7 separate regions of the Homo sapiens genome follow, and regions 2, 3, 4, 5, 6 and 7 are each linked to region 1. The links are contacts of gene promoters, found by promoter capture Hi-C in blood cells and fetal thymus (Javierre and others, 2016). All regions are on one chromosome and are shown on one strand. Each heading gives the region's core, a stretch centred on a gene start or on the middle of the fragment in contact. The rest is flanking DNA. Distances are from core to core; before and after follow the strand shown. Region 1 holds the start of PDE6H (phosphodiesterase 6H). Region 2 overlaps ATF7IP (activating transcription factor 7 interacting protein). Region 3 overlaps PLBD1-AS1 (PLBD1 antisense RNA 1). Region 4 overlaps PLBD1-AS1 (PLBD1 antisense RNA 1). Region 5 overlaps GUCY2C (guanylate cyclase 2C). Region 6 overlaps GUCY2C (guanylate cyclase 2C). Region 7 overlaps GUCY2C (guanylate cyclase 2C).

Evidence for each region. The method cuts DNA at HindIII sites, captures the fragments that hold promoters and counts their contacts. A CHiCAGO score of 5 or more calls a contact.
Region 2: a contact is called between a fragment that was not itself captured here and the fragment with the promoter of PDE6H in region 1, in 1 of 17 cell types (neutrophils). The highest score is 7.8, in neutrophils.
Region 3: a fragment that was not itself captured here is called in contact with the fragment with the promoter of PDE6H in region 1 in 1 of 17 cell types (neutrophils); the score reaches 13.2 in neutrophils.
Region 4: a contact is called between a fragment that was not itself captured here and the fragment with the promoter of PDE6H in region 1, in 1 of 17 cell types (neutrophils). The highest score is 6.9, in neutrophils.
Region 5: a contact is called between a fragment that was not itself captured here and the fragment with the promoter of PDE6H in region 1, in 1 of 17 cell types (neutrophils). The highest score is 7.7, in neutrophils.
Region 6: a fragment that was not itself captured here is called in contact with the fragment with the promoter of PDE6H in region 1 in 1 of 17 cell types (neutrophils); the score reaches 8.5 in neutrophils.
Region 7: a fragment that was not itself captured here is called in contact with the fragment with the promoter of PDE6H in region 1 in 1 of 17 cell types (neutrophils); the score reaches 5.5 in neutrophils.

The regions. Positions count from the first base shown.
Region 1 is chr12:14,971,177-14,975,276 of GRCh38, forward strand. PDE6H (phosphodiesterase 6H) reads left to right here and starts at 1,866. Exons shown (of 4, transcript NM_006205.3): 1 at 1,866-1,910. The HindIII fragment of the contact is 3,244 bases long and covers 262-3,505 here.
Region 2 is chr12:14,494,216-14,498,315 of GRCh38, forward strand. ATF7IP (activating transcription factor 7 interacting protein) reads left to right here. Exons shown (of 15, transcript NM_018179.5): 14 at 2,016-2,128; 15 at 3,439-4,100. The coding sequence ends at 3,858. Among named protein-coding and RNA genes, the nearest start is that of PLBD1-AS2, 34 kb to the right of the region's middle. The HindIII fragment of the contact is 5,948 bases long and covers 1-4,100 here.
Region 3 is chr12:14,570,101-14,574,200 of GRCh38, forward strand. All of the region lies in intron 2 of PLBD1-AS1 (PLBD1 antisense RNA 1), which reads left to right. Among named protein-coding and RNA genes, the nearest start is that of PLBD1, 4.3 kb to the left of the region's middle. The HindIII fragment of the contact is 5,629 bases long and covers 1-4,100 here.
Region 4 is chr12:14,598,497-14,602,596 of GRCh38, forward strand. The region is part of intron 2 of PLBD1-AS1 (PLBD1 antisense RNA 1); the gene reads left to right. Among named protein-coding and RNA genes, the nearest start is that of PLBD1, 33 kb to the left of the region's middle. The HindIII fragment of the contact is 4,698 bases long and covers 1-4,100 here.
Region 5 is chr12:14,616,919-14,621,018 of GRCh38, forward strand. It overlaps GUCY2C (guanylate cyclase 2C), which reads right to left. Exons shown (of 27, transcript NM_004963.4): 24 at 2,293-2,391. PLBD1-AS1 (PLBD1 antisense RNA 1) reads left to right here. Exons shown (of 6, transcript NR_120465.1): 5 at 2,234-2,455; 6 at 2,820-2,837. Among named protein-coding and RNA genes, the nearest start is that of GUCY2C-AS1, 47 kb to the right of the region's middle. The HindIII fragment of the contact is 2,241 bases long and covers 540-2,780 here.
Region 6 is chr12:14,632,931-14,637,030 of GRCh38, forward strand. All of the region lies in intron 19 of GUCY2C (guanylate cyclase 2C), which reads right to left. Among named protein-coding and RNA genes, the nearest start is that of GUCY2C-AS1, 31 kb to the right of the region's middle. The HindIII fragment of the contact is 2,774 bases long and covers 852-3,625 here.
Region 7 is chr12:14,689,143-14,693,242 of GRCh38, forward strand. All of the region lies in intron 1 of GUCY2C (guanylate cyclase 2C), which reads right to left. The region is part of intron 4 of GUCY2C-AS1 (GUCY2C antisense RNA 1); the gene reads left to right. Among named protein-coding and RNA genes, the nearest start is that of GUCY2C, 5.4 kb to the right of the region's middle. The HindIII fragment of the contact is 2,724 bases long and covers 433-3,156 here.

The DNA of each region.
Region 1 (4,100 bases), core at 616-3,115:
TTTCAAACTATACACCTAGACTTTCTCCACACTCCTAATCTCTCCCTCTTCTCTCTCCTGGATTTCCTTTGGAGGAAGAAGACTTATGGCACAACCACCCCCATATTCAAAAATTGAGAATCTGAGAATTGCAAGATTATCTTTCTCAAGTGTACTGGGATGGAAAAAAATTGAGAACCCCAACACTCTAAATCATTCATTTTACATATGAGGAAACTGAGACTCAGAGAGGTGACATATAGCAGATAAGTGGTAAACCCAAGCTTGCATATGGGTCTAGAACAGTACTTTTCAAACATTAATATGCAAACACATCACCTTGGACCTTGTTAAAAAGCAGATTCTGATTCGGTAAGTATGGAGCAGGGCTGAAATCCTGCATTTTTAACAAGTGCACAGATGGTGTTGCTGCTGCTGCACTTTGAGTAACAACATTCTAGAACATTCACTCAGCTTTTGGCACTTTCCACTGTCCTTAAAATTTGTATTCTTTCATCAAGAAAATGGAGAATATGTAAAAGTTTGACAGATAAGCATCTGAACATTAACGTGCCTGGTATGTAATAGTAAAGGAAGATGTGAATGGTAATGGAGATACAGAGGAGGGAGCAGAGGGACTCATCCAGAGACCAAACACTTTCCTGGCTTTGCAAGGTAATCATTGCTTTCAAAACTCAGAGGAATTTTGGTAAAGACCAGTGGAGAGCATATGAATGACTCTCAAGCTGTCTAGTTGCTCATGTAATCTGCTTAGGGCTGCAGGTTAAGAACCTCTCCCTGTCTAGAAAGGATAAATTGACCTTCTTTCTCTGTAATGTTATGGAGTGTAATTTTCTAATAGGTAACAACTGGGGAAAGAACATTGAAATTCACTGGCAAGGCATGGAAGTGACCAGCAAACAGACATCTTGGTCTCTGTCTGCTTTGATGTAGTGCAGCACAAAGACAATTGAATATGCAAGGTACTTCCAGATTTGGGCCCTGTTCCTGGCTCCACTATTAATTTTATTTGCAGTCTTGAATAGGTCACTTAATCTTTCTATGATAAATTTATCAAAAGAGCTTACTGATAACTACCATATGGGTTGAGATCTATTTAAAATACAAAAAGTATTAATCTATTAATAATTAATACTAGTGGATCAATAAAATAGGAAGACTGAGTCAAGGAGTCTCAGTAAATTGGATTGTACCCTAGACCCTACACCCTGAAACATTTAGGTACGGAAGATCCAGCAATCGATTCTCAAATAAGTGTCCTCAGTTAACAATTCCTAGCTGTCATTTGGGCCCTTTCTGTGTCAGATATCAGTTTTGACTCTGAGGTTCCATCTCTCTGAGGAAATTCGCACAATACCAGTTAGGGAGACATACTGTGTGTTTCCCAATGTCACTGCCCGCATGTTCAATGTCCCTGTATAGCAGGAGGCACTGTGGCTCCCTCTCTTCTCTCCAGTTATCTAGAGCCCCATAAGAATTATGTCACTGTGTATATGTGTGTGTGTGATTGCGCACATAGGTGTGTGTTTGTCAGAGAAAGGGAAGAAATGGGGGTATTGAAATCTAAAGGTAAGAATAAAAAAAAGACAGAAGATATTGAATCACAAACTGAAATTTACCCTTGGATATCAACACTTTTTGTGTTTTTGTGAATACAATACCTATTTATTGACTGGAATGAACCCAAGTCAGTTTTGAAAGGGCCTCTAATTATTGGAAAACTCCTAAGCCTGTCCCAGCATCAACCCATGTTCTCCTAACTTCTTTGCACCTGGGTTGCTGTTCTGAGCTTATGACGGTGAGATTAGGCAGCATGAGGGTATTACAGAGAGATAAGTCAGGATGCAAAGATCCTTTTGTCTTTTGCAAAGAAGGCAGCTGGGCAGCTGATAGGAACAACATTCAGCTCCGTGAGTACTTCTGAACTTCTGGTGAATTTGAGCAGGATAATTGAAGGGCTTTGGGGGGTTGATCAGGTTCCAAAAGAAAAATTGCAGAAGAAAACATGTTGGACCTGTGGGCCTGGGCTGTGGCTGGGGATGAAAATGGGAAAGAACATGAAGGAGATACATGCAGACCTTCTTGTTATGCCATGGGACAAGCAAATAAGTGAAACTTGATTATTACAAGGTCACTGCAAAACTTGATTACTGAATTCATTTAGAAGGAGCCCAATAGTGACCTCCCTGTTTGCAGCTTCATAGTAAACAGTTTTCTGAAGAAGGAGGAATCTGTGGCACTAAATAACCACAGAGAAAACAGTTCTTTACTCCCAGGATGTGCCTGCAAACTTGGCCCAGGATGGTGTGAGTGTGAGGAAAAGGAGAAGGGGAGCTGAGAGCATGAGAATGACCACAGGGCAGGGCAGGTGGCTGAGCCTTCTCCCTTTGAGGTCAAGTGTTTGTTCCATTCTGAAGCAGGGTGCTGGCTGGAATTTTGGTAATTTTTTTTTTATGGCTTTGGTTTGGGTCTTGCTTTGCTTTTCAAATTATTGATTTTCTCTGCCTCAGCAGGACCCTGGGTGATATTTATGGGCTCAACCCCAGCAGTACTTCCCTTCCCAGCTCCTTCCTGCCTCTTTCTTTGTCCACCAACAATGGACTGGTCTACCTGTCTATAGCTTTGCTGAGAAAAAGAGAACTGGAAGTGTAAGGTGATAACAGCAGCATCAGAGAGCTGTCTCAGGAACCTCCTAAAACTGCTTTTCAGAGGATCATCCTCTGTCACTATATAGAGCTGGGCTTTGCTGTATAAAGAAACAGAAGATGATTTTTTGCTTTATACAAATCTTTAACTTTGTTAAGTTGACCCTAATCCCAGTCCCCTAAAAAAGTATGCCTTGAAATATTACTTTGCTGCATCCACTTATTTCTGCAGAAAAACAGTTTGTAATCTTCAAAAGGGGAAGGGCTAACATTGCTTTAAATACAGGAAAATGTTCTGGCTCACAAAAGAATAAATTGCCTAATGCTTTTGGAGGAAAAAATATGAAACTTCTTTCAGCTAAAATCAAGTCTGATAATACATTTAAGGTTACTCAGCTCCAGATGCCCTTAGAATTTCTAGAAAGGTGTGGTCAGCATGAGGTTAGCCTTTGGTGATGTTTATGGACAACAGGACTGGCTTCCAATGCAGGAAAAGGTCAGAGGTGTTCTACCCTTCCTAAAGGTTTTGCAGAGAGAATTGGAGGGTAAATCTATGACAGAAACTGCATAGGGATTAGTCGACTGTTCCGGTTACCTAGTGCAAATCCTGAGCACCATTAGGATCAAGGGATTAACCTGGCAACTGTTATGTAACTCTTTCTGAGGAGGCTTCTTTCATATAATGCATCATACTCAGACATGAACACTTTCTAAGCCTAGAGGTGTAACTTCAAAATTATGTAAAAATGCAAAAGAAACTTGCAAGAAAAAAGGGGATGTATCATTGGGGAATATGGATGTCACGTGTGATTTTTAAATTCTTCGGGGTTGCTGTTGGGGTGTCAAAGGAATTCAAGGAAAGCTTCTTAAGACAGAATTTTAAGACCAGAAATAAGTTAACAGTCGGGGTGTTTGAAGGAAGCAGAGAATTACCCAGCGAGGGCAGATGATAATTGCCCCTCTGGTGTATGGCAAGGGCCCTTCAGCAGTTGGCCCAGAGGAAGGAGGTGCAGAGTCCAGGTGAACAAGTGTCATAACCACAGATTTGTTTGCATGGCTTTCTTTTCTCTCAGAAGGTCTAGCATATATTTGCCCTTTTTGAACACTTTGTACCACTCTACTTATATTGTCTTCCTAAAATTTCCCCATAACTCTAAAAGGAAGGTCTTGTTTGATTCATTTTATAGATGGAATAAGACCCACAGAGGATTATGAAATTTATCCTAAGTCACGTAGCCAGTTCTGTGGAGTAGGAACTTAAAACTATATCAGTTTGATTCTAAAGAGTGTACTCTCTACCGTGTTACCATCAAAGGACAATTTGACAAATGAGGGTCACTTTAGGCCCTTACATTATAGAACTCTGGATCCAACTCAATTGGATCTTATTAGGGCTGCCAGATAAAAATGAAGGATGCCAGTTCAATTTGAATTCCAGAAAAAAAATGACTTTTT
Region 2 (4,100 bases), core at 1,107-3,606, 480 kb before region 1:
GTTCCTCTGGACCCCATTCCTGGTACCAAAATCTGAATTAGGGTTCTCTAGGGGGACAGAGCTAATAGAATATATATATATATATATATATATATATATATATATATATATATATATATGTGTGTGTGTATATGTATATATACACATATGTTTCCTATATATAGTATTCATATAATATATACTATATATAAACTAATAGGATATATATATTTTATATATTATATATGTATTAAACTAATAGGGTATATACATAAAATATATACTACATATAAACTAATTGTATATATACTTTATATCCTACTATATATATACAGTATATCTTAATTATATATAAATATTAAATATATGTAAAATACTTTATATATAGTGAATGTTTATATATATAAAGGGGAGTTTATTAAGTATTAATTTACATAATCAGAAGTTCCCACAATAGACTGGGCATGGTAGCTCACGCCTGTAATCCCAGCAGTATGGGAGGCCAAGGCAGGCAGATCACTTGAGGTCAGGAGTTCGAGATGAGCCTGGCCAACATCGTGAAACCTCATCCCTACCAAAAATACAAAAATTGGCTGGGTGTGGTGGCACAAGCCTGTAATCTCACCTACTTGGGAGGCTGAGGCAGGAGAATCTCTTGAGCCCAGGAGGCGGAGGTTGCAGTGAGCCGAGATCATGCCACTGCACTCCAGCCTGGGCAACAGAGCCAGACTCTGTCTCAAAAAAAAAAAAAAAAAAAAAAAGATCCCACAGTAGGCTGTCTGCAAGCTGAGGAGCAAGGAAGCCAGTCTGAGTCCCAAAACTGAAGAACTTGGAGGCCAATGTTCCAGGGCAGGAAGCATCCAGCACAGGAAAAAGATGTAGGCTGGGAGGCTAAGGCTAAGCCTGTCTCTCCTTTTCACGTTTTTCTGCCTGCTTTATATTTTCTGGCAGCTGATTAGATTGTGCCCACCAGATGAAGGGTGGATCTGCCTTCCCCAGTCCACTGACTCAAATGTTAATCTCTTTTGGCAACATCCTCACAGGCCCACCCAGGGTTAATACTTTGTGTCCTTCAATCTAATCAAGTTGACACTCAGTATTAACCATCACACATATGTTGTAGTTTTGCAAAATGTGACAGCAAGGGAAAATATAGCTATTTAAAGAAACACAGTAATGCTATCATTTAGAAAATAAACTGATTGGAGTCCCTGGATCATAGCTTGGCTTCAACTCTCTCAAGTTTACAAGAGCGTTGTCTGGGAAAATTAATCAACAAGGTTAGAAATGAGTTCTGGGAAACTTGGCTCACTATAGTCCAGGAACCAGGCCGAACTACAGCATGGGCCAGGTACTGAATAAATGGCAGGAATATAGTTAGGGCAGTAGGTGGCTCTAAATTTTCTCTTTTTGTTTCCCTGGTGTATGTCACAGCAGTTTTCTGTGGGGTGAAGTGAGTATCCTCAACCAAGGAGCTGGGCATGGAGAAAATGAGAGGAACCTCATTAATACATGGCAAGGATGACTTATTCTGGCTTTCTGTCCTGGTTGAAAAGATGAGACTGCAGAGATTTTTATGAAGATACTCCCAGTTTGTCTGTCTTTTGAGTCACACTGCTCCATTATGGCCATTTACCTTTTACATGTGGTACACAACCAGTGTTCTAGGATTTTTGTTCATAGTTCTCCTGGTAACGATCCATTTATTTCTCCCTGTGCTGGACCTCCTGTTGCTTGTGTCTCGTGTTTTTCTCTTTATTTTCTCACGTACTGGTGGCACATATTCTCCATTGACTATTTGAGAAAGGGTTTGTGGTAGTTAGAATTTTTTTTTAGTGCTTGCATGTAAGAAAGTTTTTTTATCCACAGGCTGATTGATAGCTTGGCTGAATACGAACAGGACCTCTAGGTTAGAAATATCTTTCCTTTCGAATCTTGAAAACATTGCTTCACTGCCTTCAAATATTTAATCAGTTTTCCACCAAATTTACAATAGAATTATCATTTTATCCTGTAATTTTTTTGTTTGTTTGTAGGTGTTACAGTTCGAGTGCCTCAAACAACCACATATGTTGTAAACAATGGACTAACCCTGGGATCAACAGGACCTCAGCTCACAGTGCATCACCGACCACCACAAGTGCATACTGTAAGTGTTGATGCTTGGTTTTGCAAAATTCTCAACTGTAGAGGTATAAAATATTATTGTATTTGGCATTTTTCTTTAAAATGGTTATATCCAAGGGAAGTGTTAGGTCTTCCTGCTTTTTCAGAAGTTTATTTCTAAAAATTGATCTTACCATTATGAACACATAGTTCCTAGGGATGATGATCATTTAGAATCATTGAGTTTGCTTGTGGTGTACAGTGTACAAAAACAGGTCCACAGTTGGGGTATATGAAGTGAAATATAGACCATTTCTAATTCATAGTTAAATTAAAAAGGACATTTTTCATTTCTCCATGTGTTAATTTTATTCTTTCGTTCTAAACTATGCCACATCTAACTGCTACATTGTCATCAATTAATTGTTCTAAAGAATCCAATGATATTGGGAATTCATTAGTTAAGAGGTAACAGAGATAACCAAAGATTTCTCCTTAGATTTAGCCTCCAAAACAATGTCACATTATCCTGTGACACAATTTTGTCAGTGTTTGACTGGTATGAAATATCATTATAATGATGATGATGTTCCAGTGTTAGAAAAGTCAATAGGACTTCCTAAAGTTAGAGTCATGTTTTTTCATCATCTGGCCTTAACCTACCTTTCCAGATTTTTCTTCATGTACCCTATGTCCAAGAAAAAGTTAATACTTGTTCTTGTCCATACGTCCCCTCACTTTACTGTCCACATGCCTTTGCTCATGCTTTATTTTTGGCTGAAAGGTACATGATTATTTCTGCATCTCTGGATCCTCCTTCACAGTTGAGTTTAAATATCACCTTTTTCTTGTAAATTGGCCAAGAATATAGTACACATTTAGTGTTAATGTGCTTATTTATAAATAACTTAAAAATGAAAGTATATTTGTATTCTCCAATTTTATATGATCTTGGTTGCCATACATGATATTTAAAAATGTTACATCATACTGAAATGATAATCTGTAACATAGATAATTCAATCATAAATTATTTTGTTAGAAATAGATCATTACTTCCGTGTTCCTCAAAATGATGTTCCGTCAGCAGGGGCTTTTTATTTCCTAAGAAAAACTCAAAATATTTTAGGTCTAGGAAGTATAGTAGGAATAACCTCAGCATCATTGTTTGTAGCATGATTCATTACAAAACCCCAAATAGAACTTGCCAAATTTGATATGGTATTTGGTATTTCCTAGAATTCTTGATATAAAATGATACTTCTACGTATGTTCTCTAAGGTGTTTTAATTCTAACATTCTAAAATAGTTCTTTTTGCAATCATCATTAATCAGTGTGACCTGTTTCTTCAGGAGCCCCCACGCCCCGTGCACCCAGCACCCTTACCAGAAGCTCCACAACCACAGCGTCTGCCCCCAGAAGCTGCCAGCACATCTCTGCCTCAGAAGCCACACTTGAAGTTAGCACGCGTTCAGAGTCAAAATGGCATAGTACTGTCATGGAGTGTCCTGGAGGTGGATCGAAGCTGTGCCACTGTTGATAGCTACCATCTCTATGCTTACCATGAGGAACCCAGTGCCACTGTGCCCTCACAATGGAAAAAGATTGGGGAAGTCAAGGCACTTCCCTTGCCCATGGCATGTACTCTCACCCAGTTTGTATCTGGTAGCAAATACTACTTTGCAGTACGAGCCAAGGATATTTATGGACGTTTTGGGCCTTTCTGTGATCCTCAGTCAACAGATGTGATCTCTTCTACCCAGAGCAGTTAAACCTTGGAGCCTTTATATTTTCCTCTTTTAAAATTTCCACCTTTTGGTCTTGTTTTTAATCTTGTGCATGATACCCCATGTAAAATCCACCTTGTGCAAGATTTCTTGGACAGATGTGTGTATACACTACATTTGTTTATAACCAGAAGCAAAATAAACTCAGCCCACAAAGCTAGAATCTTTTCCTGGACAGTTTAGGCTTTGGGGTTTGGAAATGTAAATGTGTACCTTGCTTTAGTTTT
Region 3 (4,100 bases), core at 538-3,037, 400 kb before region 1:
GGGGCAAAATTGCCCCCTAGTTGAGAATCACTGAATTAGATGATAAATCTTGCTTTCTTTAAATTATGCCAGTTTTACATATCTGGGAGGAAAATGAGCTGCAAAACTCACACATAGTTAGGAAAATAAATCTTGGGACCCCAAAATCACTAAGCCAAGGGAAAAGTCAAGCTGGAAACTATGTCAGGCAAACCTGCCTCTCATTTTATTCTGAAATAAGATAGCTACAAAGATAAGAAGCTACATACCTCCCTCACAGTTTGCCCACAAGGAAATTCCCTGTGGACAAAGGGAAGACAGAACTTAAAAGTCATCCCTCTGAGGCTCACCTGAGACAAATGCACATCTGATTGCTTCCTCTGCAGTATTGTTTATGTAAAAATGCAGACTCCCTGGGCCAGACTAAGTTGTGTATTCTGTGGAAGGCTGATCAAGGATTCAAAAGAATGTAACATTTTGTCTCTTTTCTACTTCTAACATGGAATACCCCACTTTGAGTTGTCTCGCCTTACCATACTGAACCAATGTACATCTTACACGTATTGACTGATGTCTCATATCTCCCTAAAATGTATAAAAGTAAGCTGTACCCCGACCACGTTAGGCACATGTTGTCAGGACCTCCTGAGGCTGTGGCCCTGGTGTGTCCTTAACTTTGGCAAAATAAACTTTCTAAATTGACTGAGACCTGTCTCAGATTTTTTGGATTCACATACTAAAGCTGCAATGAGGAGAACCAAAGATGCCAGCTGCGAAATGTTCTCATCACTTCTATAATGGACTTGTGTGGTTTGGGGCTACTCAGCGTCCATTATTCTCTTCCTGTACCAACTTTTGGTGCAGGAATGCCAACTTTTGGTGAGCCAAGGGTGGAGGTGTTTCTACCAGGAGACACAATAAGGAAGTATTATTGAATTGGAATTTGAAAGTGCATTACTGAATTGCAATTGGTCTTTTTTGAGCTCCTCTTAAAACATAAAAATATGTTTGAATGGTTAAGAATAGGATTGTAGTATTGGTAATTTTGCCTTACTATCAAAAGGAGTAGGAGCATTGGATGCGGTGGCTCACTCCTGTAATCCCAGCACTTCAGGAGGCCGAGTTGGGTGGATCACTTGAGATCAGGAATTCGAGACTAGCCTGGCCAACATGGTGAAACCTCGTCTCTACTAAAAATACCAAAAATTAGCTGGGCATAGTGGCTCATGACTGTAATCCCAGCTACTTGAGAGGCTGATGCAGGAGAATCAGTTGAACCCAGGAGGCAGAGGTTGCAGTGAGCTGAGATCGCACCACTGCACTCCAGCCTGGATGACAGAGAGAGATTCCATCTCAAAAAACCAAAACCAAAACAAAATGAAAGGACTGGGAGCATAATCTCACCTGGGAAGCACCACTGGGGACTCAGACTCCTCATCCCAATGGGCAAAGAATCCCAGCAGCTGAGTTGCTGGCCCAAAGCAAGGGGAACATGGAAAAAAGGTGGAGAAGAGAAGTCACATATAATTATCTATAGCCAGGTGACCAGTTGCAGAAACAAAGATAGTGGTCTCTATTGGCCTCTATATTTCTTTCCTTGCTGTAACATGTATGTGGTGGATTGAAAATTTTACAGTTACAGTTCCAGAATGAAATATCCAAAATGTAAATTTGTTTCTTTTCCAAAAAAGTGTAATTAACTTAGCATTCAAACACATCCACTGATGGTAATTTTTTTTTTTTTTTAATTTTTTGTAAGACAGGATCTCACTATGTTGCTCAGGCTGGTCTCAAATTCCTGGGCTCAAGTGATCCTCCCACCTTGGCCTTCAAAAATGCTGGGATTACAGGTGTGAGTCCAACCAGTAAAAATTTTTAAATACCAGATTTAAGGTTGCGCAATTTCATTTGGACCAAATCCTTAGTGTCCTTTGCCTTCTTTATGTCCTTACCATTTTTCCTTAAGGATGACCTTAGCTTCGGGGGCTTATGTATTGACTTGGTACTAAATAAGGGACATTTACTCTGTGAGTCATACTCTTGGCTTAGTGGCCTCCACTAAGATATAGCTTTTTTTCTCATTCGGTCTGCAGGAATTGTAGTGCATAGGCATCTGCTGTTGGTATCTGCAGCTTTACCTTGACCTCGGATTTAGATTTCCAGATACTCTGTGTATTAGTTAATGTAATGCTAGCTATGATGACAGATAAACTCCAAAAGTTCATTGGATTAATGCAACAAAAGTTTATTGGTGTCTTGTATGCCAGTCCAGTGTGGGAGTTCTTAATCAGTAAGTGGCTTTCCTCCATGTAGAAATTTAAGAACCCACCTATCTTTCATCTTGTGGCTCTGTCATTCTCTAAGGCAGAAGTTCCCATGCTTTCTTGGTTTATAGTGCCCGTAGAGTGTCAGTAATATATTTTTAGGGCTGCAGACCAAAAGAAATACCTAACAGTTCTTTTTACTAAGTAGTTAGAGCCACACAATGCAATAGTAGTCATTTGCTCAGTATCCTACAGATGGTGCTACATGTCCCTCAAACATTTAAAGTATCCCAGAGAGCTCCGTTGATTGATTATAGTGTATTGTGCTACTACTGTTTCCCATGAGTATTTACTATATTCTCAGGTACACTCTGTGCATTCACTGTGGTTGCCAAACTGTGTGCGGGAACCATAATGCTATGGAGTCTTGTCTTCTGGCGATGGGAAGAGAAAAGCACCCCTCACCCCTGCTTCTTCTTTTTTTGTTTTTATTTATATATATATATATATTTTGAGATGGAGTCTCACTCTGTCGCCCAGGCTGGAATGCAGTGGTCCTATCTCGGCTCACTGCAATCTCCGATTCCCGGGTTCAAGCGATTCTCCTGCCTCAGCCTCCCTAGTAGCTGGGTAGCTGGGACTACAGGTATGCACCACGATGCCTGGCTAATTTTTGTTTTTAGTAGAGATCAGGTTTTCTCATGTTGGCCAGGCTGGTCTAGAACTCCTGACCTCAGGTGATCCACCCACCTCGGCCTCTCAAAGTGCTGGGATTACAGGCATGAGCCATCATGCTTGGCTGCACCCCTGCTTCTTAATAACTTCTGCTTACCTTCCATTGGCAGAGCTAGACATATTGCCCTATCTTTATGCTAACAAGACTGGGAAATGCAGCCTCTACCTGGGATGTCATTGCTCGGTATGGAAGTAAGAGCGCGCATTTCTGGTAGGCAGCCAGCTGTTTCTGACACACTTGGCAACCTCTTCATCCTGACTTGGATACTCTTGGGTCGTTTGGCTCATTCTCAAACCCCTCTGAGCCCTGCGGGAGTGGCAATAGGGCCTGAAAGCTAGTCTGATCTAGTGTGCATCAATTAATGAGCCAGCCATTGGGTTCATCTCCCCAAACATCTCCCTCAGTTATTGCTACTTTACAACTCAGGTGCCATGTGGGATTATATGGGTCCTATTCAAGGCTTGCAATTTTATGGGTATGTTCTGGAAAGTTTAAACATGTCTGCTCTGGTAATTAGAGACCTACTTTGAGTTTCTATTAGCAAACATTTCCACACTCTGCCTCACCCATCAAACAGATGACTCCCCCGCTAACGAGGAGGACAGTCCTAGACCCTTCACATCGACCCATTATGTATTTATCTCATCAGCTCTTCAAACTTTTTACTTCTGTGGGCAGGAACGAATTCAACATTAACATATATTGTTATTCTAATTTATTGTTCTTTAGTATATCATATGCTCTTCTGTTTCAGTCTGTTTTTCCATTTTCCAAGTTTTGATATTTCAAAACATTTTTCTCTTTCAGATTCATAGATCTTATGTTTTCATGGCTTTGAAGACTATTGTCTCTGTACACACAAGGTCTCAGAAAGCCACAGAGTTTACCCTTTGGTCTTCTGATATTTTTGTTTTTTCCTCCCTTAAGCAATAAGCCTTTGCCTTTTGGAATAAATATAGCTGTGAAAGATTTACTAGGTTAAATAAGAATTTCTCAAAAGAAAAATATGTAGAGTAAACCGGGTGTGGTGGCTCACGCCTATAATCTCAGCACTTTGGGAGACCAAGGTGGGTGGATCACTCAGTCAGGAGATTGAGACCAGCCTGGCCAATATGATGAAA
Region 4 (4,100 bases), core at 582-3,081, 370 kb before region 1:
TGGTCTATTCTGCTATTAATACTTGTGATTACATTATTAAATTCTTGTAGTGTGTTTTTCAGCTCTATGAGGTCAGTTATGGTCTTTCCTATACTGGCTATTTTATCTCTCAGTTCCTGCATCATTTTATTGCGATTCTTAGCTTCCTTGGATTGGGTTTCAACGTACTCCTGCATCTCCATGATCTTTATTCCTTTCCACTTTCTGATTTTTTTTCTTCTTTTTTTTTTTTTTTTTTTTTGAGGCAGAATCTCACTCTGTTGCTCAGGCTGGAGTGCAGTGGCACGATCTTGGCTCACTGCAACTTCTGCCTCCCAGGTTCAAGTGATCCTCCCACCTCAGCCTCTTGAGCAGCTGGGATGACAGGCATGTACCACCATGCCCAGCTAATTTTTGTATTTTTAGTAGAGATGGGGTTTCACCATGTTGGCCAGGCTAGTCTCAAACTCCTGGCCTCAGGTGATCCACCCACCTCAGACTCCCAGAGTGCTGGGATTACAGGCATGAGCCACCACAAATGTCCCATATTCTGAATTCTATTTCTGTCATTTCAGCCATCTCAGCCTGGTTCAGAACCCTTGCTCCTTGACAGTTCAACTCACCCATTCCCCTGGAGTCACTGGGGGCCAGAAACAAATCCCAGTTCATGGTAGCCCCATGCAGGATTCCCAGGTTCTTCCTGCTTCAGTCCAGCTTCTGTATCTTCCCTCCATCCACTCTCAGTGCTTTCCCTCTGAAGATCTGTTAGGAGTGTACCAGTTGTCTCGGTCTCTCAGTAGCAGCTGTTCCCCCTGGCTATGTCTAGTCAGCCATCTTTCTTTCTCCCGAGGTTATTCATTTTAAGGAAGAATATTACAGAGGTATTAGAACCCTCCCAGTGCATAACATGATGTTAATATGTCATTCCTTGTGAAATTAACCTTAATTATCTGGTTATTGTGGTATCTGAAGGCTTCTCCACTTTAAATTACTATGTTTTCTATGTAACAATAAATATTTGAAGGAAGGCACTTTGAAATTATGCAAATATCCTCTTTCTTCTTAAACTTTTACTCACAAATATTAGCATTAATTAGTGGACCTTGCCAGTAGCAATGATTACAGTAGTGTTCTAATATTTATTTTTAAATTTTCTTCATTTTTCTACTTATTAATATGATTTTTCTGTAAGGTGGAGTTGTCTCTTCTCTATCAGTTATTTATGGTTAATCATTTATTTATATCTGTGTGGAGTCACAGATATTTACTTTATTCTTTAGGTTATAATTCAATACTTTATTTCATTATTTTTGTTTCAGCTTTAGTCATTCGGAGCTTTTTAAAATTGACTTCCATGACATTTTGACAAGCCTCCATTTTTTGTTTTTTGGTGGTTTTTTTGCACCTCATTACTTTCTGGCAATGTGAGATGATCCAGTCTTATTTTGTATTTTTCCTGTCACAGCCTTGAAATCAATCACTTGCCTAAGGAGTCCTGGTTCTTTTTAAGAATAATAGCTAGGGGCTGGGTGTTGTGGCTCATGCCTATAATCCCAGCACTTTGGAAGGCTGAGGCAGGAGGATTGTTTGAGGCCAGGAATTTGAGACCAGCCTGGGCAAAATAGTGAGGCCCCCATCTCTACAAAAAGTAAATAACAACAACAACAAAACTGGGCATGGTCTACATGCTAGCTACTCAGGAGGCTGAGGTAGAAGGATTGCTTGAGCCTGGGAAGTTGTGGCTGCAGTGAGCCATGATTGCAATACTGCACTCCACAGCCTGGATGACAGAGCAAGACCCTATATATTAAAAAAAAAAAAAAAAAAAAAAAAAAAGGTATTTAGAAACCGCAATCTGGACACTAGTTGTGTTCATTGCTGTTGGGGGTATCACTAATTCTAGATCTTCTCAGTGAGTTAGTATATACTCACATATACATTTATTTCTCTAGCTATCTATTAAAAATCCACAAGATTCATAGTGTTACTACTGATCCAATCCAGCTCTTCAAGGTTAATTCTGGCATTCCTTTTTTGTTTATTTATAAATTTTTTCTCTGACAGTGAGAAACCTGTTGCTCATATCTAAAATATATTTATCTAATTGACCTAGTCTACATTTAAAGTGGTTTCAATTCTAACTTACCCTCTTCTGAAAAACAAATTTATCAATTAGACTACAATGTTTTGTACAGTGCTTTTTTTAGCCTTACAGAATCCACTAAAAATGCTGTTTTCCAAAGTATCTTATGTCAGCTCCTTTCTTTACCACCCTCTTCAATGAGGGTATGCCATTCTGTATAATAAAGTTAGATTTATTTTTCACATTCTACATTCCATATTGGGTTCCATCCACATCTGATTGCTTTATAAAGAATTGCTTGCAGTGAAAGTCTTCCTTTGTGGTATACAGTTCTGAAATTTTGAGAGATGCATGGTCATGTGTTTACCATCACAGTACCATATGAGACAATTACATTACCTCCAAAATTCATTTGTTCTATCTTTTTTCTTATTCTTCTTCTCTTCTTCTTCTTCTTCTTTTTTTTTTTTTTTTTTTTTTGAGACAGGTTCTCTTTCTGTCACCCAGACTGTGTTGCAGTGGCACAATCTGGGCTTGCTGCAATCTCTGCTCTCCAGGATCAAATGATCCTCCCACCTCAGCCTCCCAAGTAGCTGGGAACATGGGCACACACCACCACACTCGGCTATTTTTTTCTGTATTTTTGGTAGAGACGGGGTGTCACCATGTTGCCCAGGCTGGTCTTGAACTCCTGAGCTCAAGCAATCTGCCTGCCTCAGCCTCCCAAAGTGCTGGGATTACAGGCATGAGCCATGGAACCTGGACTTCTTCCAGCTCACAATTCCTAGAATTTGTAATCAAATTCTTCCAGCTGACAATTCCTAGAAATCACTGACCTAGTTTCCATTTCTAGAATTTTTCCTTTCCCAAAAAGTCATTTAAATGAAATCATGCAATATATAGTCTTTGGGGTCTGGTTTCTCTTAGGGAATTGTATTTAAGGAATCATCTATATTGGCTTTTTAACATTTAATTTTGTTTTTTATTATTTTCTATGGATACATAATAGTTGTACATGTTTATGTATTACATATGACATTTAGATATTTGCACACAATGTGTAATAATCACATATGGGTAATTGGGATACCCATTACCTCAAACATTTATCATTTCTTTGTGTTGGGAACATCCCAAATCTTCTCTTCTAGCTCTGAAATATACAATAAACTATTGTTAGCCATAGGCACTCTATTGTGCTGCCAAACACTAAATCTTATTCCTTCTATCTAACTATATTTTTATACATTAACCAATCCCTCTTCACCCCCCCCTTTTCCACTACCCTTTCCAGCCTTTGGTAAACACCGTTATATTTACTACCTCCATGAAATCGATTTTTATTTTAACTCCCACACATGAGTAAGAATACACAATATTTGTCTTTCTGCACCTGGCTTATTTCACTTACCCATAATGTCATCCAGTTCCATTCATCTTACAGCAAATGACAGTATTTCATCCTTTTTATGGTTGAATGACATTTCATTATATATATACAGCACGTTTTCTTTAGCTAGTCATCCATTGGTAATCACGTAAGTTAATTCCATGTTTTGGTTATTGTGAAGAGTGCTGCAATAAACATGGGAATGCAGATATCCCTTCAATATCCTGATCTTCTTTCTCTTGGATATATACCCAGCAGTGGGATTGCTGAGTCATATGGTAGTCCTATTTTTAGTTTTTAGAGAAATCATCATAATGTTCTTTATAGTGTCTGTACTAATTTGCATTCTCACCAACAGTGTACAAGTGTTCCTCTTTCTCTACATCCTCATTAACATTTGTTATTGCCTGTCTTTTGAATAAAAGCCATTTCAACTGGGGTGAGATGATATCTCATTGTAATTTTGCTTTGCATTTATCTGATGATTAATGATATTGAACTTTTTTATATACCCATGGGCCATTTCTGTTTTATGTTTTTCAAGAAATGTCTACTGAGGTCTTTTTGCCTATTTTAAAATTAAATTATTAATTTTTTGTTATTAAATTGTTTGCATTTCTTATATATTCTGGTTCTTAATCCCATGTT
Region 5 (4,100 bases), core at 410-2,909, 350 kb before region 1:
CCCACCCAAATCTCATGTTGAATTTTAATCCCCAGTGCTGGAGTCCTGGCCCCCGACCAGGTGTCTGGGTCACAGGGGTGGATCCCTCATGGCTTGGTGCTGTCTTTGCGATACTGAGTTGTCACAAGATCTGGTCATTTAAAAAGGTGTGGCACCTGCCCCTGCCACTCTCTTTCTTACTCCTGCTTTTGCTGTATGAAGTGCCTGCTCCTGCTTTGTCTTCTGCCATGAGTGAAAGCTTCCTGAGGCCTCCCCAGAAGCAGATGCAGGTGCTATTCTTCCCTTACAGCCTGCAGAACCATGAGCCAATTAAACCTCTTTTCTTATAAATAACCCAGTCTCAGGTTTTTCTTTATAGCAATGCAAGAATGCCCTCACACAAGAAATATAATCTCACGTGGGAAGAAAGAAGGCCTGGCATCAGTTTTCAGGGCCCTGCGTGATGTGATGGGGATCCCTAGGTTTTTCTCCATAGATTCTCATTCCAGCTCAGAGTAGTAGCCTGCGGGACCTAGTTTTAGATTTGGCTTGTAGTGCCAAGCTTGGGTGTTGGAGTTTGGTTTTGGGTCCCTGTGGAAAAGTTCCAATAAATAGCTAAAGCCTTGTGGGCAAGGTGAAGATTCGGGAGAGTTGAGGGGTCTTGATTTTCTCAAATTTCCTTCTTCTGGAACATTGTTATCCTTTGACAAAAGAAGTGGTGAGGGCACGCCCATTCACAAGTCCATTGATGTGTATCACCTTTCCCAATATAGGGGCCTAATAGCAATACCACAAACAATTACACAGTAAGAATAATGACAATCCCAAATTGTATACCTACCATGTACCATGATTGCTAAACGCTTAACATGACATCATCCCAAATTATTTCAGAAACCCTCTTGGCACGGTTGGTATTCCATTTTCAATTTGTATCTTTATCTTTCTGAGGGCTAGAAGGATCAGGTAGCTTTCTACTCAACTTATACTGAGAATGATTAACATAATTTCAATTGTAACCCAAGTCTGTCTGACCCCAACCTTATCCTTTTCCTTGCCAGCATGATTTGCCAGGACAAACTAGTATCACATTGTCAGTACACTACCAAAATACCATCCTGCCTCCTGTGGTTTCGTAAGCCCCAGCCATGTCTCCCAGTGCTTATTTTCTCTCTTCTATATATTTCTACTGCTACCACTGTCATCAATATTTATTGAGCATCTACTTCATGCAGCACATTGTGCCTCTACCTTGCCAAGCAAATGCAATATATTCCTTCGTATATAACAAATGCTTAGATTTTTCTTTACTAAAATCAATTCTTGGTTGGGTATGATGGCTCTTGCCTGTAATTCCAACACTTTGGGGCTTTGGGGGACCAAGGCAGGAGACTTGCTTGAGCCCAGGAATCTGTGACCAGCCTAGACAACATAGAGAGACCACACCTCTACAGAAAAAATTAAAAAATTAGCTGTGCATGGTGGCATGCCTGTAGTCCCAGCTACTTAGGAGGCTGAGGTGGGAGGATCACTAGAGCTGAGGAGTTCAAGGATGCAGTGAGCTGTGATTGTGCCACTGTGCCAAAGCCTAGGCGACAGAGTGAGACCCCATCTCAAACAAATAAACAAAAATCAATTTCCAGAAAAAACGAATATGCTTTGGGAGGCCAAGGTGGAAGGACTCCTTGAGGTCAGGAGTTTGAGACCAGCCTGGGCAACATAGTGAGACCCAGTCTCTATTAAAAATTTAAAAATTATCTGGATGTGCTGGTATGTTCCTGTAGTCCCAGGTACTTGGGAGGATGAGGTGGGAGGATCACTTGAGCCCAGGAGTTCAAGTTTACAGGGAGCTATGATCGTGTCACTGCACTCCAGCCTGGGTGACAGAACGAGAGCCTGTCTCTAAAAAACAACAACAAAAAAGCAAAACCAAATAAGAGGGAAACAGGAATGTGAACCAGAGTGTGTAGTTCTTACCTTGCCTACTGATTTTTTTTTAACTTTCATGAATCTATGGTAAATGCCAGGACTATTCTAAGTAGAATATCCCCAGATTCATTGTATATGAGCCAAAAATATAGAAATAGTCTAAAACTGAGCAAAAGTGGAAGAATAAAATAATTATCAGTAAACAACAATGAAAGCAAATGTAGCAAAAGGTGGATTGACACGGGTTTGTGTTCAGCTAATGTGAAGAATTATTCTACATCTCACTGGCACTTTGTATCTCCTTATTGTGCATTTTATCTCACAGTTGCCCTCTGCTGGAAAACAGCATCTTTGTCCTCTGAGAAAAACAGTCTCCCTTCTTACGGAGGCCAGTGGATTCCATCCTAGAGGCTGTGTTGACCGTATCTCCAAATAGACAATAACGAGGCATCTTGATTCCCACAACTCCAGCAGCACAGGGACCTGAAATGAAGGACAGAAAGCAGGAAGTGGAGGCAATAGAAATTGCAGAGTAGAGTGAAGACAGGTAAGCCTCTCTGTATGGTCACAATCCTGAATACTTCCTGTCATGGAGAAGTAGCTGAGGATGTGAAATGTGAGCTGGGACTTTTGGTTTAAATGGATGAATCCAATGAAGCATCATTATTCAATGCATGCGATCATAAAGTATTTTGCTCTCGCAAAGAAAACGACATTTGTAGCAAATAGGAAGGCATTCAGAGATCCAGATCACAAAGGTGATTTTAAATAGAAGGCTCTCAGGAAGGATGAAGATGAGCCCCACTGCTTGCTTACTGTGCCAAACCACACAACCCTGAATTTCACACTGCTGGAGGGCACTGTAGATTTGAAGCTTCAATGGCTCAAGTTTGTTTTATTTTTATTTTAAGGTGGCATTTCTGGGATTGGTGCCATGACAATGGAAGACAGAAGACAAGACAAAGGCATAACTTTCCGTAAGCATTTCATGGACCAGGCGAATGCAGCTGGATGGGGAAGCCTGTGGCACAAGGAGGTTCCAACAAGCAGAACAAAAGCCCAGGCTAGACTATGCGCTGTGGCATATTAGGTAGGAAATAAGGGTTATTCAGTCATGTATTTGCATAGAATGACTGAGTGCAAGGTGTTAACAGTTTCAGAAGTTAAAGATTAACTCAAAAACTGCAAAGCTGAGTTTTAAGCAATGCCTGGCTAAAGATTCATCTAGATGACTTCTGAGTTCCTCTCTTACAGGTGTTTTTTCTATAACACCTGTAACTCATCTCAAACCTTGATGTTCAAGGCTGTTGAATTAAACTAAGTTTGGCCTGAGGCTGCCTCTTAGGGGTCCCTACAAAACAAACTGCAACCTAGCTTGGTACATAAACAAACTAAAAGCCTAACTAGGGTATACTTACGTTATAGATAGCTGAGTCTCAGCCAATCGCAGTAGCTGAGCTTCAGCCAGTCACAGGCTGTCAACTGATGGGACTTTGACCAAATCAGGGGAACACAGAGGTTTGACCAATCAAGTTGTTTCTGTCCCTCACTTCTGTTTTCTGTCTATAAACATTGCCCGCCCACCTTGCCCATTGAAGCTCTCTGAACCTCTTCTGGTTTTAAGGGCCATCTGATTTGAAAATTATTCTTTGCTCAATCAAACTGTGTTAAATTTAATATGCATAAGCTTTTCTTTTAACAAGGCTATGTAACTTTCATGGTCTTTGAAAGTGACTCATGTACTTTCTGTATAACTGCAGTGGCAGGGAAGGGAGGGGGTATAAATATTATAGAAATTTCACCATCTGTTCTTTATTTCCCCTTGTAGATAATCTAATCCACTTAAGATACTATAATATTTTAGTGGGAAAATATATTGAAGTTGGGGGTGGGGAGAAAGGGAATGGGGAGGAAATAAATGAAATCATAGGTATGGTGATTTAAATAGGAGTCCAAAGCTTCTTGTTTTCGTACATGTTTGGTGTTTATCATGTCAGCAGTCAGTGGTGCCCTCAAAGGTCTTGTTCTTAGAGTTCTCTAGGAACTGGGTCTAAATATCTCAGGATGCATAGTGGGACCTCACATTTGGCAAAAAGAATTAAGAGTAAAAATTATGTGAGGTCGATCACACTTGAAGACCTTTTATCCTTTCTGATTTAGTTGGTGCACAGCAGTACATATGGTTCCCAATT
Region 6 (4,100 bases), core at 989-3,488, 340 kb before region 1:
TGCCCAGCCTGTCACAGCCACTACCAACACCAGTGCAGACTGCTTGGGAACCAGAAGCTTGTCCTATCATGGCTACTTCCACTACTCATGCCATGCCTGCTGCCCAGGAACCCGGGAATCCACCCACCAGCCTAGGCCACTGCTGCTACTGCTGGCACCTGAGGAAGTTACTTGGAGGCCAAAGAATTGATCTGCCTAGACCCACTAACGCTGGTACCAGATAAGCTGTCCTGGGGCCCAAGGACAGCTTATGCTGGCACCAGTGCCTCCAAGGGGCCCTGAGGACCAGCCCACCTGGCATTCCAGTCTTCAACAAAACGTCACTACTGCCTCCACTAACAATGACATCCTAACCCATTAGGGAAATAACAGACCCACTCACAGATGAGTAAATTATGTAGAGACTACACTACTGCATGCACCCAGAATCAAAGCCAAAGTGCCTCACCCAACCAATACTATAGATACATCTTCAGGAAAAAAGTCCTCCCCTATGAAAGCAAATGTTAAAATTTGGAAGAAGTAATTGTTACACCAGATGCACAGATATCAACATAAAGACACAAGAAGCATGAAAAAGCAAGGAAATATGATACCTCCAAAGAAACACAGTAGTTCTGCAGCAACAATTTCCAATGAAAAGGAAATTAATAAAATTCTGGAAAAATAATTAAAAATAATATTAAAGGAGCTCAGTGAGATATGGGAGAATACAGAAAAATAATACAAAGAAATAAAAAAAATTCAGGATATGAATGAGAAATTTACCAAAGAAATAGATACCATAAAAAAGAATAAAACAAACTCTGGAACTGAAGAAGTCATTCAATAAAACACAAGATATATTGGAAAGCTTCAACAATATGCTAGATCAAGCAGAAGAATTTCAGAACTTGAAGACAGGTCTTTTGAAATAATCCAATAAGACAAAAATAAAGAAAAAAGAACAAAAATGAATGAGCAAAGCCTACATGATATAGACACCATAAAGTGGCTAAATACTTAAAATTTTTGGTGTCCCAAAAGGCGAAGAGAAAACAAAAGGAATACAAAACCCATTTAACAAAATAATAGCAAGAGATTTAGACATTCAGATACAGGAAACTCAGAGATCCCCAAATACATATAATTAAAAAAGATCTTCTCCGTGGCACATTATAGTCAAATTGTCAAAAGTTAAAGAGAAAATTCTAAAAATAGCAAGAAAAAAGCATCTGGTTACTTATAAGGAAACCCCCATCAGATTAACAGTGAATTTCTCAGCAGAAACATTACAGGCCAGGAGAAAAGGGATGAGGTAGTCAAAGTGCTGAAAGAAAAACCAAATTCCAGTTAAGGATACTATATCCAGCAAACTTATCTTTCATAAATGAAGAAGAAATAAAGGCTGTCCCAGGCAAGTGAATGCTAGGGAAATTCATCACCCCTAGACCTCCCCTACAAGAAATGCTTCAGGGCGTCCTACGCCTGGAAGTGAAAGGATGTCATCTACCACCATGAAAACACATGAAAGTATGAAACCCACTAGTAAAGCAATCACACAAAGAGGGAAGAGAAGGGTCTCAAAGGTTACCACTGCAGAAAACCACAAACCATAATGAAAAACAAGGGAAAGAAAGGAACAAAGGATGTATAAACAACCAGAAATCAATTAATCAAATGAAAGGAATAAGCCCTTACATAATAATAACTTTGAATGTAAATGGATCAAAATTTTTCACTTAAAAGATATAGACTGGTTCAATGGATTTTTAAAAATGACCCAACTGTAGGCTGCCTACAAGAAACTCATCTTATCTGTAAAGAAATATGTAGACTGAAAGTAAAGGGATGGAAAGATATTCCATGCAAATGAAAACCAAAAGCAAGCAAGAGTAGCTATACTTATATTAGGTAAAACAGACTTTAAGTAAAAAACTGTAAAAAGAGACAAAGGTCATAGGTCATTATATAATGATAAAGGACTCAATTCAGCAAGAGGATATAACAATTCTAAACATATACACACCCAACATTGAAGCATACAGACATTTAAAGCAAATACTATTAGATCTAAAGGAAGAAGTAGATTCCAATCTAATAATAGTTGGGGACTTCAACACTCCACTCTCAGCATTAAACAGATCATAAAGACAGAAAATTAACCAAGAAACATTGGATTTAAACTGCACGTTAGAACAAGTGAACCTAACATTTACAGAACATTTCATTCAATAGCTAAAGAATAAACATTCCTGTGATCAGCACATGGAACATTCTCCAGGATAGACCATATGTTACGACACAAAACCAGTCTCAACATATTTATAAAGAACCAGAATTATATCAAATATCTTCTCAGGCCACAATGGAATAAAAGTAGAACTCAATACCAGGAGGAACTTTGGAAACTACACAAATACATAAAAACTAAACAACATGCTTCTGAATAACCATTGAGTCGATAAAGAAATTAGGAGAAATTATAAAAAATTAAAACAAATGAAAATTTAAACACAGCATACCACAACTTATGGGATACAGCGAAAGTACTGCTAAGAGAGTAGTTTATAGGAATAAATGCCTGCATCAAAAAATCAGAAAAAATTCAAATCTAACAAGGCACCTCAAGGAATTAGAAAAGCAAGAATAAACCAAACCCAAAGTTCGTAGAGGGAAAGAAATAATAAAGGTCAGAGTAGAACTAGACAAAATAGAGGTTGAAAAAATAATACAAAGGATCATTGAAATAAAAAGTTGTTTTTATGAAAAGGTAAACAAAGTCAATAAACCATTAGCTAGACTAACCAAGAAAAAAATGAGAGAAGATCCAAATAAACAAAATCAGAAATTAGAAAAAGACATAAAAACCAATTGCACAAAAATGTGAAAGATTATCAGAGACTATTATGAACAACTATATACCAGCAAACTGAAAAATATAGAGGAAGTGGAGAAATTCCTGGATAAATGCAATCTACATAGATTGAATCAGAAAAAAATAGAATACCATAGAATACATGAACAGACCAACAATGAGTAATGAGACTGAATCACTAGTCTCCCAACAAAGAAAAGTCCAGAACTGGATGACTTTACTGCTGAATTATGCCAAACTTCCAAAGAAGAACTAACACTAATTCTCTTCAAACTATTCAAAAAAATTGAATAGGGAATTCTCCTTCATTCTACAAGGCCAGCAGTACCCTCATACCAAAACCAGACAAGGATACAACAAAAAAGGAAAACTATGGGTCAATATCCCTGAGGAACATAGATGCAAAAATCCTCCAAGAAAAAAAATACTAGCAAACTGAATCTAACAGTACATCAAAAAGATAATACGCCATGATCAAGTGGGATTTATCCCCAGGAAGCAAGGATGATTTAACATATGCAAATCAATAAACATGATACATTACGTCAACAGAATGAAGAACAAAAGCCATATGATCATCTCAATCGATGCAGAAAAAGCATTTGATAATATTCAACATCTCTTCTTGATAAAAACTCTCAAAAAACTAGCCATAGAAGGAATATATCTCAACATAATAAAGGCCAGCCATATATCACACACCCACAAAATAATAAAAGCCATATACTACAAACCTGCCAATATCACACAGAATGAGGAAAAGCTGAAAGCTTTCCCTCTAAGAACTGGAACTAGACAAGGATGCCCAATTTCACCTCTCCTATTCAACATAGTACTGAAAGTACTAGCCAGAGCAATTAGGCAAGAAAAATAAAAGGCATCCAAATTGGAAAACAGGGAGTCAAATTGTCCCTCTTTGCAGATGATATGATCTTACGTCTAGAAAACCTAAAGCTTCACCAAAAAGCTCTTAGATATGATAAATTCAGTACAGTTGAAGGATATAAAATTAACATACAGGCTGGGTGCGGTGACTCACACCTGTAATCCTAGCACTTTGGGAGGCCAAGGACGGTGGATTGCCTGAGCTCAGGAGTTCGAGACAAGCCTGGGCAACATGGTGAAACCCCGTCTCTACTAAAATATAAAAAAAAAATTAGCTGGGCTTGGTGGCAGCTGCCTGTAATCCCTGCTACTTGGGAGGCTGAGGCAGGAGAATTGCTTGAACCTGGGAGGCGGAGGT
Region 7 (4,100 bases), core at 545-3,044, 280 kb before region 1:
GGTTAGATTGGACTACAGTAGTTGGAGCAAAAGTAGAGAAAAATGGTTGCATTTAGGATGTATTTTGAAGGTAGGAAATTGATAAATGCAATATGAAGTATGAGAAAAGAGGACTCAGAATAACGCCAATATTTTTGGCCTGAGCAAGTGGGTGAAGGGAACTCCTATTGACCAAGATGAGAAAGAGTGTGGGTGGAGCAGGTTTGCTAATGTGGTGTGTGTGGTGATGGAGGTGGACATGTCAGGTGTGAGATGCCTGTCACACTTCTAGATAGAGAGGACACTAAGCAGTTGAAATACACCCATCAGAAATAGTTATTAATGCAATCATTCTTATTGATAAAAAGCTGTCACATCTGTGGCTCAGATTTATCATTCTTGCTCAAAAGGGGTGTCTTGGTCAGTTTTCTAGAAATCAAAGCCTGAGACAAAAGCTTTATTGAGTTTGTCTTACCAGAGTCCCATATGCAGTAAATAGTGGGATCTGAAATGGAAGCCGTGATTATCTCATCCCAAACCAATTGTACATTTTTGATATCTCAAATGAAAACTCACGCATGAGGGAATGGCCTTTTACCAGCTTAGTGATGCACCAAAATGTTAAATCCAAAATTTATCAATGGGTATGATTGTTTGTTCTCAATGAATCTTGCTGTATTACAATTTTTAGACCCTGTCTCTCCTGGAGCATTCAAGATACTGAGTAAATAGTCTATGAGAAAAATACCTGCATACCCTCAGGAAGTTCCCTGCAGCTGTACCCACACTTCTCACATGAAATGAAAATGGTTAACAGTTAATTATCATCTATTTTTCCTAAAGAAGGTGCTGCAGAATTCTGTTTTCTTTCTTAGTAGACAGGGAAGGAGATTGTGTAACATTACAAAATTGCCAGAAAACCCCTTTGTCTTTAAAATACATCCTCTTACTTTAAAATGTTTCTAATCAAGGATAAAGAAAACAAAAATGTGTTCATTAGTGTCCTAAATTAGATGAGAGTTTTGTTTGGATTTCACTCTGACTCACACATTTCTCCTCTTAGAAAGCAATACAAGAATTGAAAACAAGTTTCTCTTCAAAATATCTGTTTGGTCACAAGGATGGCTGGCCTTACTGACCAGAACACCACTCCTGGTGTTAGGCATTTCCTCTATGGGCTACTCCCAAAGCCAAAGTGAATTATGTTCATCCTGGCTTGAGGTCTTTGTATAATGGAGAACTCCCATATTTAGATGAAAGCAAGGGTCTTGCTGGCGATATCCCTGGGGACTGCTAGGCACCACGTTTTAGAAGGGAATAGCAGAACCATTTGACCACAATCTATTAAATTTTGGTTCCTTCCAGTAAAAAATAATCAGGACAAATGTCTGATTCCTAAGCAGGGATGTTCTTTTTTTTTCTTTTTCTTTTTCTTCTTTGAGACAGAGTCTGCACTGTTGCTCTGGCTGGAGTGCAGTGGCGCGATCTCTGCTTACTGCAAGCTCCACCTCCCATGTTCATGCCATTCTCCTGCCTCAGCCTCCTGAGTAGCTGGGACTACAGGTGCCCACCACCACACCCGGCTAATTTTTTGTAGTTTTAGTAGAGACAGGGTTTCATCGTGTTAGCCAGGATGGTCTCGATCTCCTGACCTCATGATCCGCCCGCCTCGGCCTCCCAAAGTGCTGGGATTACAGGCGTGAGCCACTGTGCCCAGCTGCAGGGATGTTCTTAAGTTTGCCAAGTCTAGAGGGAGTCTGGAAACCTCAGTCCACAGTCCGGCATTATGAGTGATTTCTTATGTGTTCTTGTACAAGCCATTTTAATTTCTCTCACTTAGTTTCTCGCATGTAAAATGAGGTTAAAACCAAGTTTGTAAAATGGGATAATTTTTAATAGCACCTTTAAAAGAGCAAAGCATGTCTATAATAGAAGTTGTTCTTCTGAACAAATAAGAATGTTTTTAAAGGTAGAGACTTGTTCTTTCAAAGAATGGAGGAGTCTTTGCACTTCTACAGCCACTTGAGAGATGTCTACCAACTTTGCTTTTTTAAGTTCGAAAACACTGATACTTTATTCAGTAAGATAGCTGATTGAGAGATGTCAGTACTTTGGTAGGACTAGCCAAATAGGAGACTTCAATGTAATTAGACCAGTCAGAGATATCTAATGGAAGAGAAGTGGGGAGTGATGGGTTTAATAGCAGTTCACACTTAATTGAGTGTAACCGCGAGTCAGCTTCAGTACTAAGCCCCATATGCCTTTTATTTAATTTTCATGACAATAGAAAGGATATAGAGAATTTGAAACCAGGAGAACAGAATGAATGAGGCTACAGTGGACCTGGGGGAATGAGAGAGGGCATGTGAGGAACTGTAGAAAATAGGGTTAGAGAGGGTCTTGGAACACTGCAAGAGGAGTCAGAAAGTGACGTGGAGGGTAGCACACAGTCACATGAAGATGGCCACACTTGCAGCTCCTCTCTCTTGACCTCCTGCCTCTATGAGGGCTTTGTTCTGTCCTACCACCATGAGGGACAGTGAAAATGACACTTAAAAATCCAGTGCTCCTGGCAGCCCATGACTGATACAGCTAAACTCAAGTAGAAACCCTGGCACAGTGCCTGGGAAAAAGGGAACCAACATCTGTTGAGTGTGACCTCAGACAAGTGACTTCCCTACTGGGCCCCAGTTCCTCATCCACTTGTTAATAGAATAGAGCCAGTTGATCTCTTTCACTATATGCCTAGCTTTGGGCTGTGATTTTTTACAGGTATTATTTCACTTAATCCTCTCTGAATCCTTCAAGGTAATATTTTGTCATCCTCATTTAAACATGAGAAAATGGAGGTCTGGAGAGGTAGATTAACTTGTTTAAGGCTACACAGCTTGCAAGTAGTAGCGCAGGGATTTGAACCTAGGGAAGTCTAATTCTAGAACTTTGATATGCTGTAGAACAGCAGTTCTCAAAGTATGAGCCACTGAGGTACCCTTTAGTCCCTTTCAGGGGATCCATGAGGTCAAAGTCATTTTTATAATTATACTAAGACATTCCTTATTTTTTTCTACTCTCCTTCTCTCATGAGCATATGATAAGTTCTCCAGAGGCTATATCACATATATTCTTGCAACAGATTGAATGTAGAAGCCAATATGAGAATATAGCTATCTTCCATTAAGCTTGACATTAAAGACATTTGCAAAAGTGTAAACCAGTCTTCTCACTCGCTTTGTTTTTTTTCTTTTTTGGCTTGAGAAATATAGGTTTTCTTTAATAAAAATATTATTTATGCTAACAGATATTTATTTTTTTTGATGAATTTATAAAAAATGTTTAAAATGTTTCTCAGTTTAGTTTTCAATACAATCAATACTGATATATGTAGCCACATAAACATAACTCTTCAGCACCCTCATTAATTTTAAAGAGTTTAAAGAGGTCCTAGGCCAGGTGCGGTGGCTCACGCCTATAATCCCAGCACTTTGGGAGGCCGAGGCGGGCAGATCACCTGAGGTCAGGAGTTCGAGATCAGCCTGACCAACATGAAGAAACCCCGTCTCTACTAAAAATACAAAACATTAGCTGGATGTGGTGATGCATACCTGTAATCCCAGCTACTTGGGAGGCTGAGGCAGGAGAATCGCTTGAACCTGGGAGGCGGAGGTTGTGGTGAACTGAGATCATGCCATTGCACTCCAGCCTGGGCAACAAGAACGATACTCTGTCCCGAATAAATAAATAAATAAAGAGGTCCTAATACCAAAATATTTGAGAATGGCTTCTATGGAGCATAGTATAATATGCTGCCTCTCAATATTTTACTTTTATGTGTACTGCTTTCTCTTATTTTTAATTTGGTGGGGGTAATGTCTTCCCTTTTATCACTCCAGAACTCAAGTGATTTTTCTAGAAAATACTAAACATTTTTCAGACAATGACATAACTTCAAATCAAAGGTTTACTTTTAAAATAAGCCATTTCCCCCATGCTACTTTTCATCCTTTCCTACCGGCACTCTCTACCCCACAATGATATCTCATTCCTGGGAGGATGGATGGAAAGCTGAACAATATGGGGCGAGCTCAGAACTCTCTCTTCCTATCTAAGGGTTTAAGGATGGG